2 separate regions of the Homo sapiens genome follow, and region 2 is linked to region 1. Evidence: promoter capture Hi-C in 16 types of primary human blood cells and fetal thymus (Javierre and others, 2016). All regions are on one chromosome and are shown on one strand. Each heading gives the region's core, a stretch centred on a gene start or on the middle of the fragment in contact. The rest is flanking DNA. Distances are from core to core; before and after follow the strand shown.

Region 1 (3,323 bases), core at 47-2,546:
AGCTTGTGTGGGAGTATGCCAGTATCAGGGACAGTTTCCTGGGCCCCTTGCAGACCATAGGGAGAGGACTGCAGGGCAGGGAGACTGGCATCTCCACACAGGCGTCTGTATTCTTGGGGTCCAGAACTCCCGCAGCTGGTTTCTGGCAGTCAGCCAGGCTTGGCTTCCTCAGACTTCTTTAGATCCCAAAAAAGGGGGAAAGTGCCTCTCTTCTTTCTCTTTTCTGACTGACACTTCAGGATTTTACAAGATTTTGTCCCATCCGCTCTGTCAGCTTCTCTCTTTCCCTCTTTGTGTTGCTGTCCCTGAGTCTCATCTCTCCCTCTCCCCGTCCCTCCCTCAAGTCCTGTGGGTCTCCGTCCCTCCGTATGTCTTTACTTAAAGGGAAATCCAGACCCTTCCACAGGCCACTCTAGAGGCTCCATTTCCCCTTCAGGTCCGGAAGTGGAGTGTCCTGGGTTCCATCCAGATCGCATGTCTTCTACGTCTACGTTCGTGTCTCCCGCCTCTTCCCTCAGCCTCACCCGAATCAGGGCCTCCAGAGCATTCTGGGCAGTAGCGAGTCCCTGGGTAAGGGGCGTCCAGGGCACCTCCCTGGGGCCCGGAGCAGCTCATTCCAGGACATCTGGGACAGGAAGGGTACCGGGAATGAACTGGGGTGCTAGTACCCAGGACCCAAAGCCAGGGGCTGCCAGAAATACCTATTAACCCCCATTTCCCAGCCTCCTCTTACACAGGCGCATTCCCGGGTTCTCCTCTGAGGCCGGGAGCGGCCTCCCAGCCCCACCCCCGACTCCCCTTCCCCCCCAGGAGATGGACACTTTATAGAGAGAGCTTTTTATTCTCTCGTTAAACCTGTCAAAGCGCAGGAGACAGAAAGCTAGGGAGGGAGAGGAGGAGAAGGAGGTGGGGCCCGGCTCCTCGTCCCCTCTTCCTCCGCCCACCACGCCTCCCCTCCCCCCGGACGTGTAAATGAGACTCTGCAAACTGGAAAGCAGCGAAAGGACACCTCCTTCCTTTTCTCTCTTGTTGTTTTTAAGTGGAATGAGAGAGAGAGGAGTGGAGAGGGAAAAGAAGAGAGAGAGGGAGAAGAGAGAGAGGAGAGAAAGAGCGAGAGAGCGAGAGAGAGAGACAGAGACAGAGAGAGAGAGAGAGAGAGAGAGAGAGAGAAAGAGAGAGAGAGAGAGAGAGAATAAGCTGGGGTAAAGTATTTTCGCAGTTTCTGCCTTTAGGATTTTATTAGCTTCTCTCCCCCAGGCCGCAGCCAATCAGCGCGCGTGCCCGGGCCCCTGCGTCTCTTGCGTCAAGACGGCCGTGCTGAGCGAATGCAGGCGACTTGCGAGCTGGGAGCGATTTAAAACGCTTTGGATTCCCCCGGCCTGGGTGGGGAGAGCGAGCTGGGTGCCCCCTAGATTCCCCGCCCCCGCACCTCATGAGCCGACCCTCGGCTCCATGGAGCCCGGCAATTATGCCACCTTGGATGGAGCCAAGGATATCGAAGGCTTGCTGGGAGCGGGAGGGGGGCGGAATCTGGTCGCCCACTCCCCTCTGACCAGCCACCCAGCGGCGCCTACGCTGATGCCTGCTGTCAACTATGCCCCCTTGGATCTGCCAGGCTCGGCGGAGCCGCCAAAGCAATGCCACCCATGCCCTGGGGTGCCCCAGGGGACGTCCCCAGCTCCCGTGCCTTATGGTTACTTTGGAGGCGGGTACTACTCCTGCCGAGTGTCCCGGAGCTCGCTGAAACCCTGTGCCCAGGCAGCCACCCTGGCCGCGTACCCCGCGGAGACTCCCACGGCCGGGGAAGAGTACCCCAGCCGCCCCACTGAGTTTGCCTTCTATCCGGGATATCCGGGAACCTACCAGCCTATGGCCAGTTACCTGGACGTGTCTGTGGTGCAGACTCTGGGTGCTCCTGGAGAACCGCGACATGACTCCCTGTTGCCTGTGGACAGTTACCAGTCTTGGGCTCTCGCTGGTGGCTGGAACAGCCAGATGTGTTGCCAGGGAGAACAGAACCCACCAGGTCCCTTTTGGAAGGCAGCATTTGCAGGTACCTCTATTACCCTGGGTCCCCTTGTCTCTGAGCCTGGGGTTGTGGGTCCCAATGGCATTTCCCTGGGAGGAGGAGGAGGGAGACTTGGAGCTGGTGAGGATGAGCTTGGTGCTCCTCCCTTGGTTATTAGGACTCTGAAGGAGGTCTGAGTAGCTGGAGGGCCTGGATGGAGGTCAGTGTGAGGGGCCTGAGCTGGGTGCTATCTGAAGCCTGAAGGCCACCTCACTTCTCCAGGAGGCCCTGGGACCAGCCTTTCAACATGTCTGAGAGGTTTAGATCTCTTTGCTGTTGAGTGGGGATCAGGGTGTCCCTACCCAGCACAATTCCAAACTAATTCTACACAAAAGCTAAATAACTCTCAATTCGGTGCGTGGGGAGTGGGTGTGGGAGATGGGTAAAAAGGTATTGGATGTACTGTAGAGAATACAACCTCTCACTTTCTATTAGATGAGTTTTCCAATTTCCAAAGAAAAATTTAGGTTTCCTGCAGCCGTGACATATGTGTGTGCACTGGGATGGGTTAATGTGTGTGTGTGTGTGTGTATGCGCATGTATTGGGAGTGGGGGCAGAAACGTGTTTCCAGAATTTGCCTGTAGAATCTAAAAGAGTGGCCAAGAGTCTGGAAATGCATGAAGACTGGACGTATGTGATGGTGGGCAAAGGCCTGACTGTGTGTGGTGTGTGGGTATGTTTGCAGATTCGCGGGTGTGAGAGCAGTGATGGGTGAGGGTGGCCTTCAGGAGCCAAGGCTGAGCGGTGGTGAGAGAACAAGCCGGAAGCCAGGGTGCTGTCCTGGTATGCTTTGGAGGAACAGGATTGCACGTGCGCCTGTAGGGTGACCTGTGTGCACCTGTGAGATGACTTAGCTTGGGGCTTGCAAGGCCTGGGTCTGCATGGGTGGGTATCTGACCATGCCTTTTCCTCCCTCCCTTTCACGCCGCGCAGACTCCAGCGGGCAGCACCCTCCTGACGCCTGCGCCTTTCGTCGCGGCCGCAAGAAACGCATTCCGTACAGCAAGGGGCAGTTGCGGGAGCTGGAGCGGGAGTATGCGGCTAACAAGTTCATCACCAAGGACAAGAGGCGCAAGATCTCGGCAGCCACCAGCCTCTCGGAGCGCCAGATTACCATCTGGTTTCAGAACCGCCGGGTCAAAGAGAAGAAGGTTCTCGCCAAGGTGAAGAACAGCGCTACCCCTTAAGAGATCTCCTTGCCTGGGTGGGAGGAGCGAAAGTGGGGGTGTCCTGGGGAGACCAGGAACCTGCCAA
Region 2 (3,001 bases), core at 255-2,754, 420 kb after region 1:
TTGTTACTGATCACACAGAAGACACCCAGCTGCATGGAATGCAAATAAACAGCCCACCTCCAAGATATCATATGGCCAAGTGTCTCCTAATGCAAATTCCTGACTTGTTTACAGAATAACAATAAAACGTTATAAGTTTAAGATTGGAGGCAATGAGGAGACAGCTAAGAAAGTTGTTTGGGGGTCTCTCTCTCTCACACTCTCTTTTCCTGAATTCAGTTTCCCCTTAAACTTGACAAAGTGGAACAGAAATTCACCCTTGTCTTGGTCATTCTTCTGAAACAAAGGGTCTATTCTCTCTTTTAATGCATGTAGAACTTCCATTAAGGTTGACCATAAGCTCTTGCATGGGATGAAAAAAGAAATAGCCCTCAAATCTTTTCTTTACCCTGGTATTATTTTTAAAGGACAAACAATAAGAACATAGTTTCACATAGTGTTATAGAAACCCTTGCTGAGGAGACACAGCCTTTAAGACCAAAGGCCTTTAAACATTCTGGATTCTACGTCATCCTAATACATTCTTTTCTATAAAATTGTTCTAGTAAGTGTTTTAAGAAAGAGAAGTATATGCAAGAAAACAAATTACTTAATTACTTAAAACAAATCAAGAAAATTCTTGCAGATATTAAAAGTTTTTTTTCACCCAATCAGATTTTACCTTTGCACTTCATATAGTGACACTATTACTGATTGGAAAACAAGAAGCATAACCGGTAAAAGGAAAACTGGCAATCTGCTTTCTCTACAGTAGTTTGTGTGTTTGGACATGTAACCACACATGCACTGGAGCCCAAACTGGGCTAATGGCTAAAATCGTATGTTAATGTTAAATGTGATTCATGTAACAGAATACAGAAGTACTTCAAATATAAACACAAGTAGCCAAACCCCAGATGCTTGTGTCTTCCTTAGAAAGATTTTTGTAGAAATAGATTCTTGCCATAAAATAGGACAAGAAAGCATTTGATGAAATCCTACCCATATTTTTGCTCATGATTTTCCTTGTATTTATCATGGCTGGTGCTTGGATAGGCTTATTATCCTGGGGTTTCTTCTTGAACAGCTCTATCTTTTTGTGTCAGAATATATGTGATTTCTGTCTGTAAACTCTAAAGTACTTGCCGAATTTTAACAGAAAAGTAATCTCTGACACAGATCGTGATTGATAAACTATTTTGGAATAACCAGGCCCGTGAGTGAAGATCCTAGGAGGCAGGTGCCTCGCTTAACTGAATGGGTTTGGGAGGGAGGAATTAAAGGGCAGGGGCAGTTCACACTTTGGTTAAACTCTGGCAACTAAAATTTCTACCCTGGTAAAATTTAGAAGTTCAAGGAATAGCACTGCCATGATATTAATGACCTTTGGGGGCATATAGAGTTCAGAGTTCATTTTCTATTTACAACATCCCTTGCTGCTCCACCTCTTACCCTTATCCTTCCCTCCTCCCCCGCAAAAAAGCAATTATTTAGGGCATTGTGACACTCAGCCTGGCTAATTTTTATACAAAAAATAGAGTCAGTGGAAAATATAGCAGTTACGTATTGGTAATGGATAGAACTGGGGATGCCCAATGTGGGGAGAGGGTATCTCCTGAGCAGTTCAAAGTTCATTCTTTGTTCACATATAATGAAAAGTCTTCAGTGATCAGGTATTTAAACCCAAATCAGCAGTTCCATATCCGTAACCTGAGCTGAGTGTTCCTCCATCTAATGGCCATGCTTCTGTCGTTTGCAGTGAGTTGGGTGACACTCGATTTGTACTCCGAGACGGGAACAGATGGGCTTTCATTGTGAGACTCCGCCTGTATGCAAATGTGAACGGAGTTTCACCCGATCCCGGGGTCTGACCTGACCGTGCACATGCATTTACTCAACGTGGCTCAGCCTGGGGGGGCGGCGAAGGGGGAATAAAAAATGGCAATCGGATAGTACCAGCGGCAGGTCAAGTTTACCATCCGTCTTTCAGTGGGACTGAGATGGCAACACAGTTATTTAGTTTCAGTGTTGATGTGTGTTGCAATAAACTCCATCATTTCACCTGTTTATGAACCCAGCCTCGTATGAGATCTCTGTGAAATCAAACAAAGCTGGCAATCAACTCTCTTGTTTCCAGCAGAATAGGGGATTATGGACTTTTTTTTTTTAAGCATCTTTAATTGTTCCCCTGCCTTACATACATAAATCAATATTTTTTTCTCTTGCCTTTTTATTTCTTACATTGAAATTATTATTTTCCGATTTGGAGGAAACAAAATACATTTTCCCCAAATGCTTTTTGTTTCAAATTAAGAAATATGATTATTAATGTCAGAATAAACAACCAGCATTTTAGATGTCGATTAACTGTTTTGCATGTATATAGCAATGTACAGTCTCTAATAAATCTTACAATTAAATGTGCAGCCCTTCATTAGAGTGAAAATATGAACAGCTGTAATCATACACATTCTATTGACAGAAATTTAGTTTCATTTGTAATTTTTCACATTGGGAGAGAATGAGAGATGAATTGGAACCACAATTGTTTCTGTAACTGTGGAGTTTTTCTTCACATGTACAGAAGGACAACAAACCAGTGTCTCTGACTTCAGGGTCTAACAGCAGTGATTTGCCTCAATTTTCTTCTCTCATGAAAGTAAATTTCTCTTGGGAAACATATAAGGCTTTGGCTAGAAAACCCGTAGGACAGACACCCCAAACTGTAGCAAATAACAAATTGATGCATTTCTTCAGTACATCTGTTCGTTAAAGGGTTTTGTTAACTGATGTCTGGAACTGGCATAAAAGAAAGAGTTGCTAAGAATATAGTGAAAGTTGGTGCATGCAGCAAAAACTGCTTCTGATAAAAGATATTGCTTTTGGTAATGCAACCATATTGCTCAGAATGGAAAGAGGGTCTTTCGAAGTAGTATTTGTGCAAGTGCAGGCAAAACCAAGACAGGCTTCCCTCAAAAATGGTGCCAAATTGTCATTGCCCAAAGATTCCTTTCCACCTTCC

Evidence for each region. The method cuts DNA at HindIII sites, captures the fragments that hold promoters and counts their contacts. A CHiCAGO score of 5 or more calls a contact.
Region 2: a fragment that was not itself captured here is called in contact with the fragment with the promoter of HOXB13 in region 1 in 1 of 17 cell types (total B cells); the score reaches 5.9 in total B cells.

Annotation. Positions count from the first base shown.
Region 1 is chr17:48,726,723-48,730,045 of GRCh38, reverse strand. It overlaps HOXB13 (homeobox B13), which reads left to right and starts at 1,296. Exons shown (of 2, transcript NM_006361.6): 1 at 1,296-2,053; 2 at 3,003-3,323. The coding sequence starts at 1,453. The coding sequence ends at 3,256. The HindIII fragment of the contact is 3,706 bases long and covers 1-3,323 here.
Region 2 is chr17:48,309,926-48,312,926 of GRCh38, reverse strand. All of the region lies in intron 4 of SKAP1 (src kinase associated phosphoprotein 1), which reads left to right. Among named protein-coding and RNA genes, the nearest start is that of SKAP1-AS2, 17 kb to the right of the region's middle. The HindIII fragment of the contact is 8,426 bases long and covers 1-3,001 here.